Regions from separate parts of the Homo sapiens genome. Here region 1 is linked to region 2. Evidence: promoter capture Hi-C in 16 types of primary human blood cells and fetal thymus (Javierre and others, 2016). All regions are on one chromosome and are shown on one strand. Each heading gives the region's core, a stretch centred on a gene start or on the middle of the fragment in contact. The rest is flanking DNA. Distances are from core to core; before and after follow the strand shown. Region 1 holds the start of MINK1 (misshapen like kinase 1). Region 2 holds the start of SLC52A1 (solute carrier family 52 member 1).

What was found. The method cuts DNA at HindIII sites, captures the fragments that hold promoters and counts their contacts. A CHiCAGO score of 5 or more calls a contact.
Region 1: the fragment with the promoter of MINK1 here is called in contact with the fragment with the promoter of SLC52A1 in region 2 in 8 of 17 cell types (neutrophils, monocytes, M0 macrophages and 5 more); the score reaches 8.8 in neutrophils.

The regions. Positions count from the first base shown.
Region 1 is chr17:4,828,318-4,835,100 of GRCh38, forward strand. It overlaps MINK1 (misshapen like kinase 1), which reads left to right and starts at 5,023. Exons shown (of 32, transcript NM_153827.5): 1 at 5,023-5,323. The coding sequence starts at 5,267. RefSeq lists an enhancer at 4,080-4,866 and silencers at 4,844-5,313, 5,324-5,573. The HindIII fragment of the contact is 4,876 bases long and covers 3,380-6,783 here.
Region 2 is chr17:5,032,096-5,039,535 of GRCh38, forward strand. SLC52A1 (solute carrier family 52 member 1) reads right to left here and starts at 3,331. Exons shown (of 5, transcript NM_017986.4): 1 at 2,766-3,331; 2 at 2,382-2,618; 3 at 1,384-2,263; 4 at 1,166-1,289; 5 at 507-1,074. The coding sequence starts at 2,511. The coding sequence ends at 862. The region is part of intron 3 of LOC105371501 (a long non-coding RNA gene); the gene reads left to right. The HindIII fragment of the contact is 18,376 bases long and covers 1-6,327 here.

The DNA of each region.
Region 1 (6,783 bases), core at 3,773-6,272, 200 kb before region 2:
ATGGTCTTGACTTTGAACTGCTACAGTGCCCACCCAGACAACAGATGCCTTCATTACTTTTTTTTTTTTTTTTTTGGGGATGGAGTCTCGCTCTGTCGCCCGGGCTGGAGTGCAGTGGCATGATCACAGCTCACTGCAACCTCCGCCTCCCGGGTTCAAGCAATTCCCCTGCCTCAGCCTCCCACCTAGCCGGGATTACAGGTGCACACCACCACGCCCAGCTAATTTTTGTATTTTTCATAGAGACAGGTTTTCACCATATTGGTCAGGCTGGTCTCGAACCCCTGACCTCAGGTGATCCACCCGCCTCAGCCTCCCAAAGTGCTGGGATTACAGGCATGGGCCACGGTGCCTGGCCACCTTCATTGCTTAAGTGTTAGTGATTTTCTTTCTTTTGTTTTTTTTTTAAGCGTTATTGATTTTCTAGTGGGTGCCAGGCCATGTGCTGAACAAGACTAATATTATTCCTGCTTTTAAGGAGATTCAAAAGACATTTACAATTCAAATCATTAAATGTTACCATGGACTAAAGCCAGGCAGCTAAAACAGAAGAACCAAACTTAGTCTTGGTGAGTCAAGGAACGCTTCATGGAGGAGGTGATTTAGACACGTAGGACAAAGCAAAGCACGGTAAGAATGGGCATGGTCAAGAGGCTAGGGAATATTCCAAAGAGAAAACAGAGTACATGCAAAGGTTGGGGGAGAGAAAGTTGAGTTCTGGGAAGTGAGTAGAGTATTTCAGTATGGCTGGAAAATGTGAGGTCTAATAGTTGAGTATTGAAAAGTAAGGCAGGCACTGAGCAGGGTGGTTCATGCCTATAATCCCAGCAACTCAAGAGCCTGAGGCAGGATTAACACTTGAGCCCAGGAGTTGGAGGCTGCCGTAAGCCATGATCGTGCCACTACACTCTAGCCTGGGTGATAGAGCAAGACCCCAACTCCTAAAGAAGCAAACCGTTAACAAAGAAAAAGAAGGCAAGAAAAGCCAGCAGAATCTTGAAGGGTCTTTGATGCCACACTTTGCCTTTTTTTTTTTTTTTTTTTTTTTTTTTTTTATGAGACAGAGTCTCACGCTGTCACCCAGGCGGGAGTGCAGTGGTGCAATCTCAGCTCACTGCAACCTCTGCCTCCTGGGTTCAAGCAATCCTCTTGCCTCAGCCTCCCAAGTAGCTGGGATTATAGGCACACCCCACCACGCCCGGCTAATTTTTTGTATTTTTAGTAGAGACGGCATTTCACCATGTTGGCCAGGCTGGTCTCGAACTCCCAATCTCAGGTGATCCACCTGCCTCAGCCTCCCAAAGTGCGGGGATTACAGGTGTGAGCCACCATGCCCAGCCAATCTGGTTTTTGTTTTGTTTTGAGATGGAGTTTCGCTCTTGTTGCCCAAGCTGGAGTGCAATGGCATGATCTCGGCTCACCACAACCTCCGCCTCCCAGATTCAAGAGATTCTCCTGCCCCGGCCTCCTAAGTAGCTGGGATTACAGGCATGCGCCACCACACACGGCCAATTTTGTATTTTTAGTAGAGACGGGGTTTCTCCATGTTTGTCAGGATGGTCTCGATCTCTTGACCTCGTGATCCACCTGCCTTGGCCTCCCAAAGTGCTGGGATTACAGGCGTGAGCCACCGTGCCTGGCCTTTTTTTTTTTTTTTTTTTTTTGAGACAGAGTCTCGCGCTGTTGCCCAGGCTGGAGTGCAGTCGCCTGCCTTGGCTTCCCCAAGTGCTGGGATTGCAGGCATGAGCCACCACGCCCGGCCAATTTTTTTTTTTTTTTTTTTTGAGACGGAGTCTTGCTCTGTCGCCCAGGCTGGAGTGCAGTGGCACGACCTCGGCTCACTGCAAGCTCCGCCTCCGGGGTTCACACCATTCTCCTGCCTCAGCCTCCGGAGTAGCTGGGACTACAGGCGCCCACCACCACGCCCGGCTAATTTTTTTTTGTATTTTTGGTAGAGACGGGGTTTCACCGTGTTAGCCAGGATGGTCTTGATCTCCTGACCTCGTGATCCTCCCGCCTCAGCCTCCCAAAGTGCTGGGATTACAGGCGTGAGCCACTGCACCCGGCTTTTTTTTTTTTTTTTTTTTTGAGACGTTGTCTTGCTCTGTCACCCAGGCTGGAGTGCAGTGGCACGTTCTCGGCTCACTGCAACCTCTGCCTCCCGGGTTCAAGCGATTCTTCTGCATCGGCATCCCGAATAGCTGGGATTACAGGCGCCTGCCACCATGCCCGGCTAATTTTTGTATTTTTAGTAGAGACATGGTTTCACCATGTTGTCCAGGCTGGTCTCAAACTCCTGACCTCAGGTGATCCACTCGTCTCGGCCTCCCCAAAAGTGCTGGGATTACAGGCGTGAGCCACTGCACCCGGCTTTTTTTTTTTTTTTTTTTTTGAGACGTTGTCTTGCTCTGTCACCCAGGCTGGAGTGCAGTGGCACGTTCTCGGCTCACTGCAACCTCTGCCTCCCGGGTTCAAGCGATTCTTCTGCATCGGCATCCCGAATAGCTGGGATTACAGGCGCCTGCCACCATGCCCGGCTAATTTTTGTATTTTTAGTAGAGACATGGTTTCACCATGTTGTCCAGGCTGGTCTCAAACTCCTGACCTCAGGTGATCCACTCGTCTCGGCCTCCCCAAAAGTGCTGGGATTACAGGCGCAAGCCACCGTGCCCGGCCAATTTTTTGTATTTTTAATAGAGACAGAGTTTCACTATGTCTGCGAGGCTTGGCCGGTTGTGGTGGTTCACGCCTGTAATCCCTGCACTTTGGGAGGCCAATGCAGGTGGATCACCTGAGACCAGGAGTTCGAGACCAGCCTGGCCAACATGATGAAACCCCGTCTCAACTGAAAATACAAAAAATTAGCTACGCGTGGTGGCGTGCACCTGTAATCCCAGCTACTCAGGAGGCTGAGATAGGAGAATTGCTTGAACCCGGGAGGCGGAGGTTGCAGTGAGCCAAGATTGTGCCACTGCACTCCAGCCTGGGCAACGAGAACAAAACTCTGTCTCCACCAAGGTGACATTTTCCACCCTGTGTCCTGTTCCCCAATAAAAACAAATTCACAAATTCACAAAAAAACTAAACTAAACTAAAACTGTCTAAAAAAAAAAAAAAAAAAAAAAAAACAAACAAAAAACCCCACCATGTTGGCCAGGCTGGCCTCCAACTCCTGTCCTCAAGGGATCCTGTAATCTCCGCATTTTGGGAGGCCGAGGCAGGCAGATCACTTGAGGCCAGGGGTTTGAGACCAGATTGGGCGACATGGCAAAGCCCCATCTCTACAAAACATATAAAAATCAGCCAGGTGTAGTGGCATGCGCTGCCTGTAGTCCTGGCTACTTGGGAGGCTGAGGTTGGAGGATAGCTTGAGCCCAGAAGCTTGAGGTTGCAGTGAGCAGAGATCATACCATTGTACTCCAGCCTGGGTGACAGAGCGAGACTTTGTCTTTAAAAAAAAAAAAATAGAGGCTGGGCACAGTGGCTGACGCCTGTAATCCCAGCACTTTGGGAGGCCGAGGCGGGCGGATCACGAGGTCATGAGATCGAGACCATCCTGGCTAACATGGTGAAACCCCGTCTCCACTAAAAATACAAAAAATTAGCCGGGCGAGGTGGCGGGCGCCTGTAGTCCCAGCTACTCAGGAGGCTGAGGCAGGAGAATGGCATGAACCCGGAAAGCGGAGCTTGCAGTGAGCTAAGATCGCACCACTGCACTCCAGCCTGGGCGACAGAGTGAGACTCTGTCTCAAAAAAAAAAAAAAAAAAAAAAAAATAGAATTGACTTGAAGGAGTCAGGCCGGAAGGCCAAATAGGAGATGAATGGGGATAGCGGCTTGAATAAGGGCAGTGGCAAGGAAAATGGGCTAGGGGTTAGGGAAGGGGGCCGACTGGCTGTGCACCCAAATGCTAAAAACGGTCCAGAAAGGAATGTGTTCAGCTATTTTTCAAGGACTTCTAAATTAAACTCTCTTAAATGATGTTTATATTAAGGCTGGTGGTGGAGTCTTTCAGAGGCAGTGTTGGTGCTAGAAGAGCTCTTGAGGATCATACAGCCTCCCCCCTCAATTTCACAGTGAAAGAAAACCTCAGAGAAGCAAAGCAACTTGCTCAAGGTCACACAGCATTTCAGTGGTAGAACATGACTCGTGGTTCTTAGATAGCATTACCCAGCCTCCACTGAGGCTAATGGCTGTAGGCGCTATGCCAACATGACTAGATCTAAGGTGACCCAAGCTATATTTTAAGGGACTGAACGCAGATTCCCTCTCTTCCCCTTCGCCACCCCTTCCTCCACGCGCGACTCCAGTGATCAATGAATAATTGTGGAAACAGTTCCTTTGTGCAGAACACTTTGTTAAAAGAGGTGCAGAGATACACGTCTGCGGTAGGATTCCTTATCCTGAGATCTGAGAGCACCTCGATGCTTCCCCAACCTGCTAGGTGAGGGTGGAAAGGGCATTCCTGAGGCAGCCGGTGCCCCTCCTCTGCCCCCCAACTCCCACGTGGTTTCTCCAGCCAAGTTCTCACGGAGTGGCCCCTCCCTCAGCGGCTCCACTGTTGCCATAGCAATTGGGTGGGTGGACAGCCCGTCCTATCTAGAGGCCACCCAGCCCTCGCGTGGGGAGTTACCATAACAACCCCCTAGTAATAGAGGGGGTTGGGTACCGCCCCCTTCCCCCGCAAATGGAAAGGTGGGTGGCTTGATTGGCAGCTGGGCACACGAAAGAAGGAGGGAAAGGGAAGGAAAGGCGTCAAAGGAGATCTGAGAAGGAAATAAGGGAGAGAAAGGGCAAAAAAAATAGGGAAAGAAAAGGAAACGCGTGTGCGCACGCGCACCAGCTGGTGGGCGCGCTCCGCGGCCGCCTCGGCCGCCGCCCACTTCTTTCACGCCAGGCTCGCGCGGTCGCTCCGTCCTCGCGCGCGCCTTTCGCCTGCTCGCCTGCGCCTGCGCGCAGGTGTCGGCGCCTAGGGGGAGGGGGCCCCGGCGCGCTCGCGTCACGCTCGCGCTTCCACCCTCCCAGTGCGCGGTCGCTCCGCGCCTGCGCAGGAGAGGTGGTAGGCTCGGGTGGCTGGCTCCGGGGAGATAGCGCCTGTCAGTCGGTGGGTCGGTCCTCGCGCCGGCCCTCCCCCTCCCCGGTCTCCGGGGGAGGCGCGGTGGAGTCCGCCCCCGGGGTTCTCCGATGGGGGAGAAGCGGCGACGGCGGCAGTGGAGTAACCGAGCCGGAGCGTGAGCGGCCCCGGTGCCCCGTTCCCCACGGAGGCCATGGGCGACCCAGCCCCCGCCCGCAGCCTGGACGACATCGACCTGTCCGCCCTGCGGGTGAGCGCGCCGTCCCCCAGCCTCGCCCTGGTTCCTGTCCCCGCCGCAGGGGAGGGAGCGGGGTGGCTGCACGCCTCACGTGCTCCCGGGCGCCCCCTCCACCAGCTTGGGTCCCCTTGGCGACCCGTGCCCCTTTCCCGGACTCCCGCCGCGGCTGGGCCCCCGCCCTCTGCTCCCTTCTCTCTCCACTGGCTGCAGATGCTGGGAGCCAGTTCGGTCCCCACCCTGTGGTGCCCCGCCCCCACACTTCCGTGCCACCCTACCTTTACTCTGGGGTTCGGGACCCACTGGTTCGCCTAAACTTAGCCTCCCCCATCACCTGGAGAACCTTTATTGTGGTTCCTTACCTCCTTTCGGCCCTTTTCCACCTTTGCCCTTACTTCTATCTTCTTCCTTCCCCTCCTCTTCCTCAGCTCCTGGAATTTTGACTTTGCAACTGTCTCGACAGCCTCTCTCTCATCCCTCTTTCTCTGCCTCGCCCACCCTTGAATTGCATCCTTTCCCTGGTCGGAATTTCAGCTACCCCACCCCTCGTGCCGTCACCCTCAATCCCATGTTCAGTTTTCCCTATCCCTTCTCTCCTGTTTCAAGTGCAGCAGTTCAGAACCAGGCATTTCCGGTCTCAGGGTCCCTGAATATTACATGACCAACTCTGCAGCAGCGTGGGGCTGGGAGCCCTCGGGGAGGAGGGGAGGCATTTCTTCTCTTTGGAAACTGTAGCACGGGCTGGGAAGAGGATGTTTACACACACACACACGCGCACACACGACACATGCTACATGTGGTCAGGCTGAAGGTTTGGAAAGGCAGTGGGTGTTTATGTTAGCTAAAGGCTGGAAGCAATGGAGACCTCTCAAGGTAGGGGCTAATAAGGAAAGGGGTTGAGAGGAAGCAAATGCTGCAGGAATTTCTTGGAAATACCCGTTCATTGTCCCTTGTGGGGCACTTACACACTCTGGTGGAAGAGCTTTCTGTAGCATTTATGTTTTTCTTCGGCAGGGAGCTTTGGCTTAAGGGGCAACTTAGTGATTTCAAGGTGAACACTCCAGACTATCAGCCAGGTGGTGTTTTGATCCTGTGCCCTTCCAGCGCTCTCACCAGGCCAAGGTGTGGGGAGAGCAGGACTTCCCATCTCTAGGTTCGCTTCTCTGGAGGCCCCTGCTCAGACTGTCTTCTGGCTTTTGAGTCAGCCAGGGAACATGGCCAGTAGTGGGAAAAGGCGGTCAGCCACACAGGTGCCCCGGATATGGCTGGAGGGGAGAGGGGAATTGAAGAGAGCAGAGTCATGTTGTTAATTGGGTTTCTCTAGGTGACACAGTTTTTTTTCTTCCCATTTTCAGGTCATAATTTGTTTGGTGCAATGTTGGGCTATGAGACCTGACTTGCTGGAGATAACGTGATAAATTTCTGGGGAGAGGGACTGAACGCTGAATTTCTCTGTGTGCGCAGGCACATGTGTG
Region 2 (7,440 bases), core at 2,081-4,580:
GGATCAGGGTTTGCTTTATTTGAAATTTAACAAATACAGAAAAGCAGAAGGAAGAAAATTGAAGTAATCCATGTTTCCACTGGGCGCGGCGGCTCACGCCTATAATCCCAGCACTTTGGGAGGCCAAGGCGGGCGGATCACGAGGTCAGGAGTTCGAGACCAGCCTGACCAACATGGTGAAACCCCCCGTCTCTACTAAAATTACAAAATTAGCCGGTCGTGGTGGCACACGCCTGTAATCCCAGCTACTCAGGAGGCTGAGGCAGGAGAATCGCTTGAACCCGGGAGGCAGAGGTTGCAGTGAGCCGAGATTGCACCACTGCACTCCAGCCTGAGCAACAGAGTGAGACTCCGTTGTCTTTAAAGGCCAATCCCATAGCAAATGACAGAGACTCACTTGAGTAAGAAAGGTTTTTGACAAGAAAACCCACAGAAGAAGAGATAAGCTGTGGATATAAGAAAGGCACTACAATCTGTATTTAAATCTAATTGCACACTAGATAATATATGTATGAAAAATTATTTAATCCAGTTTCCTGATTTCATTATATATTTCTTATAAGGTTTTCATTAGGCTTTTGTTTTTGTTTTTGGTTTTAAATAAAAACACTTTATTGCACAAATCCCACAAAGGTCTCAGGCCCTGGGTCCAAGCCCACAGCCCCAACCTGTCCCCTGGCTCTGGGCCTGGTCTTTGGTGCCCACCCTGGCCTCACATGCCAACGTCTTCTGTGGAGTGTGCAGGTGTCCATGAGCGTTCCTGTGTTGGGGGAAGCCTGCCTGGGCCACAAGTAGTCAGGCACTGTGGCAGCCTCACGATGAAGACAGGTGGGGTGGAGTTGGGTCCCCACCTGCCCAGGCTCAGGGGCCACAGGGGTCTACACAGTCCTTTCTGCTTTGAAACACGTGGTAGATGCTGGTGGGAGGGAACATGGCACCGGCACCAAGCAGGGAGCCCACTTGGATGGCCACACCAGCTGCCAGCAATGCCGGCCGACCCCCACCATGCAGCAGGGAGCTTGCAGCCACCTTCACATATGAGAACACACACAGACACAGCACCCACGACAGCACCTGCAAGGGAGGACACAGCAGCAGGCTGAGCATGACATGCACTTGCTCCAGGGGACACCCTCCTCCCCACTTCATGTCTCCACTTGCTCACCACAAGGACCACCCCTGCAGTGGTGCCCACCAGGGGTGGGCAGGGGCTCAGGATTGCCAGTGCCATCAGGTAGGCCCCAAAGAGCATGCCCAGCAGAGAAAGACCAACCAGCCCTGCCAGGGACCTGTTGGGGATGAGCAGAGACTCAGGGCTGGCTGTTCTGGGACCTGGACCCCAACCTTAAGTTCCACCCACCAAGCCTGGGGACCCTTTTGCACCTGCACAGCACGCCCATGGCCAGGAAGCAGGCAAGGGGGTTGGCGGCACTGCCCAGCACCACAGCCAGGTGGTAGGCCAGGCGCCCATAGGGCAAACAGGAAAAGCTCTGCACAGAAGGCAGCACGCCATTGGTCACGGCACTGGTGAAGGCCATCAGGCCCAGCAGGAAGGCACCATGGGCTGAGAACAGCTGATGGGCCTCAGGGTCTGGGCCAGGGATGGTGCCTGCTGCCTGGCTCGGTGGCTCCTGCAATGGCAAAGCCTCTTCTTCCTCCTTCTCTTCCTCCTCTGCTCCTGGGGATCCCAGTTGAAGTTCAGGCCCTGAGCCCCCTGTGGTTACAGAGGGTAGTGATGGCAACAGCAACAGGAGACCCCGGAAGGCGGCAGCTGAAGTGACCAGAAGGGCAGTCAGTGCCCAGAAGAAGGTGCTGGCAGGAAAACGCTCAGGGAAGTCGAGGGGAGGCCCAGAGGTGCCATTGGTGGGCGCTGGTGGGCACTCGAGGCGGCCCACACCTTGCACTAGGGCCAGCACACAGGGGAGTAGGGCACTGAGACCCTGACCCAGGAAGAAAGACCGTAAGAAAGGAGGTGGCAGGTGGCTCAGGAAGGGCAGGAAAGTGACATTAGAGGTACAACAGGCCATTGCCAACACCAAGGCCAGAGTTAGGAAGGCCACAGAGTGGAGCTGCCCTGCCACTGGGGCCACGTGGTGCCACAGAGGGGCCAGCAGGGCTGTGCCCACTACACTCAGCACCTGTACCACCTGGATGGGGACCTGCTCGCCCTTGCCCGGGGCCAGCTGCCTCCACAGGGTCACCACCAGCAGACCCAGGTTTCCCAGCGCCACAACCACAGAGAGGTATGAGGGGAGGCTCCAACCTGCAGGGAAGGAATGATGCCATGTCAGGAGCACAGTGGCTAAGGGACAAAGAGCTGCCACAGGCCACCTTTCTGGGCATACCTGCCCCACGCTTCCCTGTACCTCCCTCCCACTCACCCTCTGGAAGGTCTTTTACCACCACAGGCAGCTCCACCCAGATCCCGTTCACAGCAGCCCAGGAGCCCATGCCAAAAAGGGCCACCAGCAGGTGGGTCAGCACCAGACGGCCCAGCGTGGGTGCTGCCATTCAGCCCAAAGCTGGACCCTCCAGGACAGGGCAAAGGTCACAGGCAGGTCCTTCCCTAGGTAGGTCCAAAGATGCTTTGGTTCTTCTGGAAACTGAAGACCTTCTAGCTGGAGGGAAACAGACAGGCTGGCAGGTAATAGGCTGGTGGGACAGAACCGGAGTCAGAAGACAAGTCGGTCAGACTGCTAAGACCAGGGCAACTGGAGGGAGAGGTGGCCGGGGGCGGGCGGGGAAGGTGGGGAGCCAGGACTTACCACGGGGCACCGGCTGTGCGTTTGGGTACAGCGACCCAGCAGTGCCGGCAGGCAGACAGGCAGAAAGCTGGCCCGAGGTGCAGCTGCCCCAGAGGAGCAAAGAGGGAGCTGATTTTCCTACCCACAGAGGACCCGGGGTCCAAGTTGTCAAAACAGCTCAGCACTGGCCGGGTGCGGTGGCTCACACCTGTAATCCCAGCACTTTGGGAAGCTGAGGAAGGCAGATCGCCTGAGGTCAGGAGATTGAGACCATCCTGGCCAACATGGTGAAAACCCGTCTCTACTAAAAATACAAAAATTAGCTGGTCGTGGTGGTGGGTGCCAGTAATCCCAGCTACTCAGGAGGCTGAGGCAGGAGATTCACTTGAACCCGGAAGGTGGAGGTTGCAGTGAGCCAAGATCACACCACTGCATTCCAGCCTGGGCGACAGAACGAGATTCGGTCTCAAAAACAAAACAAAACAAAACAAAACAAAAAAACAGCTCGGCACCAACACGCTCACCCTCAAATGGACCCCGGGACAAGGGCACGTCTCTGGTGCCACTTGCAACCCTAGCGCTTTTGCGACACTCAGGACTTGCTGAGGCAGGTCGAGTTGGAGAGGGGAGTGGCTGGGGCGGGCTCTGCCCGGAGGGGCGTCTCCGTGCTGCCCTCCCGCCTGCCTCAGGGGGGCATCCCGGGAGCCGCCAGGTGCGCAGGGGTCCCCGCACCTCCGGATCCGGCAGTCCCCGGACCCAGCGGCTGGCGGTCTGCCTGAGAGGGAGCCCCCTCCGCCGGGGAGGCGGCCCAGCCCAGAGCCCACACAGCTGGGGTTTTGTTGTTTGTTGTTTTAATTAATTAATTAATTTTGAGACGGGGTCTCACTCTGTCACCCAGGCTAGAGCGCAGCGGTGCGCGATCGCGGCTCACTACAGCCTCAACCTCCCAAGCTCAAGGGATCCTCCCACTCAGCCTCTCCCCACCCCCCCACAAGTAGCTGGGACCACAGGCGAGCATCACCATGTCCAGCTAATTTTTTTTTTTTTTTTTTTTTTTTTTGGTAGAGACAAGGTCTCACTATGTTGCTCAGGCTGGCTTGGCACTCCTGGGCTCAAGCAATCTTCCTACCTCAGCCTCCCAAGTAGCTGGGACTACAGACGCACCACACCTAGCTACCGCCACGCTCAGCTGTTTTTACACTTTTTTTTTTTTTTTTTTTTTTTGAGACGGAGTTTTGCTCTTGTTGCCCAGGCTGGAGTGCAATGGCACGAGCCTCTGCCTCCCGGGTTCAAGCCATTCTCCTGCCTCAGCCTCCCGAGTAGCTGGAATTACAGGCGCCCACCACCATGCCCTGCTAATTTTTGTCTTTTTAGTGCACAGGGTCTCGCCATGTTAGCTAGGCTGGTCTTGAACTCCTGACCTCAGGTGATCCACCTGCCCCGGCCTCCCAAAGTGTTGGGGATTACAGGCGTGAGCCACCGTGCCTGGCCAGCTGTTTTTACACTTTTAAATGGTTGAAAAAAAATTAGCTGGACGTGGTGTGCACACCTGGCTAATTTTTGCTTTTTTTTTTTTTTTTTTTTTTTTTTGAGACGGAGTCTCGCTCTGTCGCCCAGGCTGGAGTGCAGTGGCGCGATCTCGGCTCACTGCAAGCTCCACCTTCCAGGTTCACGCCATTCTCCTGCCTCAGACTCCCGAGTAGCTGGGATTACAGACGCCTGCCACCACGCCTGGATAATTTTTGTATTTTTCGTAGAGATGGGGTTTCACCATATTGGCCAGGCTCGTCTCGAACTCCTGACCTCAGGTGATCCGCCCGCCTCAGCCTCCCAAAGTGCTGGGATTACAGGCGTGAGCCACCATGTCTGGCCCTTTAATGATATTTTGTACTTGTTTACTCACTGACCATCTCAGGGATTACCCTGACCTACTACCCATTTTTGTATGGCCTGCTAGCTAAGACAGGTTTTCACATATTTATTTATTTATTTTTATTACTATTTTTGAGAAAGTGTCTTCCTCAAAAGGAAGTGCAGTAGCACAATCACAGCTCACTGCAGCCTCAAATACCTGGGCTCAAGGATCCTCCCACCTCAGCCTCCTGAGCAGCTGGGACTACAAGCACATGCCACCACGTCCAGCTGTTTTTACATTTTTAAATGGTTGGAAAAAAAAATCAATATCTGTAGTCCCAGCTACTCAGGCGTCTGAGGTGAGAGCATCCCTTGAGCACAGGAGGTCAAGGCTGCAATGAGCCATGATTGTGCCAATGTACTCCAGCTTGGGTGACAGTGAGACCCTGTCTAAAACCAAAACAAAACAAAAAACAAAGAAAACAAAAGAATCGTATTTCCTAACCCGTGAAAACTAAAAGCATATGAAATTTAAATTTCGGTAGGCCAGGCGTGGTGGCTCACGCCTGTAATCCCAACACTTTGGGAGGCCGAGGCGGGCTGATCACCTGAGATCAGGAGTTCAAGACCAGCCTGGCCAACATGGTGAACCCCGTCTCTACTAAAAATACACAAATTAGCTGGGTATGGTGGCGGGCGCCTGTAATCCCAGCTACTCGGGAGGCTGAGATATGAGAATCGCTTGAACCAGGGAGGTGGAGGTTGCAGTGAGCTGAGCTTGTGCCACTGCAGTCCAGTCGAGACAACAGAGCGAGACTCCATCCACCCCCCCAAACAAAAAAAAATTTCAGTGTCCATAAATAAAATACTATCAGAACACAGCCAAGCCCATTCATTTACCTATTGTCTACACCTGCTTTCCTGCTATAAGGGCAGAGCTGAATGGTTTCCACAGAGACTGTGTGGCCCTCAAAGCCTAAAATGTTTACTGTCTGGCCATTTACAGAACAAGTTTGCTGGTCTATCTCCCTCACTAGGATGTACGTTTGCGCGGAGGAGGCACTTTGTCTATTTCACTACCTACCCTATTCTCAGTGATCATTATACCACATAGGACGTGCTCAAATTGTTGTTGAATAAATAAACCAATAATACCCTAAAATCTGTTTCTTTCTTTCTTCCAATAATACCCTAAAATCTGTTTCTTTCTTTCTTCCTTCCTTTTTTTTTTTTTTTTTTTTTTGAGACGGAGTCTCACTGTGTCGCCCAGGCTGGAGTGCAGTGGCTCAATCTCGGCTCACTGCAAGCTCTGCCTCCCAGGTTCACGCCATTCTCCTGCCTCAGCCTCCCGAGTAGCTGGGACTACAGGCGCCTGCCACCACGCCCGGCTAATTTTTTGTATTTTTAGTAGAGACGGGGTTTCACCATGTTGGCCAGGCTGGTCTTGAACTCCTGACCTCAAGTGATCCGCCCGCCTCAGCCTCCCAAAGTGCTGGGATTACATGTGTGAGCCACTGCGCCCGGCCTAAAATCTGTGTTTCAAAAAACACAAGCCTGACACAGTGGTGTGTGCCTGTAATTCCAGCTACTCAGGAGCCTGAGGTGAGAGGATCACTTGAGCCCAGGAATTTGAGGCTGCAGCAAGCCATGATTATGCCACTGCACTCCAGCCTGGGCAACAGAAGGAGACCCTGTCTCTTAAAAAAAAAATAGTAAAATAAATTTTGAAAGCTTCCTAGGTGACTCTGATGTGCAACCAAGCTTGCCCTCACTGCTTAGGGAAAGGCTAAACCAGACAGAAATGGGGTCACATTTAGTTTCCCACAGTAATACCAAACAATGATGTTTCTAATACTCCAAGAGGATGAGAAAAGACACCATTTATCCAGCACTTTTCTTTTTTTTTTTTTCGAGACAGAGTCTTGCTCTGTTGCCCAGACTGGCGTGCAGTGGCGCAATCTCGGCTCACTGCAAGCTCTGCCTCCTGGGTTCACACCATTCTCCTGCCTCAGCCTCCTGAGTAGCTGGGACTACAGGCGCCCACCACCACACCCGGCTAATTTTTTTGTATTTTTTAGTAGAGACGGGGTTTCACCGTGTTAGCCAGGATGGTCTCGATCTTCTGACCTCGTGATCCGCCCACCTCGGCCTCCCAAACTGTTGCGATTACAGGCGTGAGCCACCGCGCCTGGCCTATCCAACACTTTTCTTGTTATATGCCAGGTACTGGCATAAATATTTAAAAAATATTAACAAACAATCCTCCCAAAAGTCCAATGGAGTGGCTACTATTATCAATACTCCATTAAAAGGAAACTGGAAACCGAGGCACATAAAGATTCAGTCAGCCGGGCGCGGTGGCCTCATGCCTGTAATCCTAGCACTGTGGGAGGCTGAGGCAGGTGGATCACCTGAGGTCAGGACTTTGAGACCAGCCTGGCCAACACGGTGAAACCCCGTCTCTACTAAAAATACAAAAATCAGCTGGGCTTGGTGGCACGCACCTGTAGTCCCAGCTTCTTGGGAGGCTGAGGCAGGAGAATCACTAGAACTCAGGAGGCGGAGGTCACAGTGAGCTGAGATCGTGCCACTACACTCCAGCCTGGGCAACAGCGAGAGACTCCATCTCTAAAAAAAAAAAAAAATTCAGTCACTTGTCCAACCTTCCACAGGTAGGGAGCAGAGCCAGGATTTCAGTGTTGGTCACGGTCTAACTGCAGGAACTGTCCCCTTAACGTAGGTGATCACCTCACCCCTTGGCCAAACACCCTGCCACTGCCTATCTGCAAATCAGTAATTGACAATTTCTCACTCTGCCACCCAGGCTGGAGTGCAGTGTGTG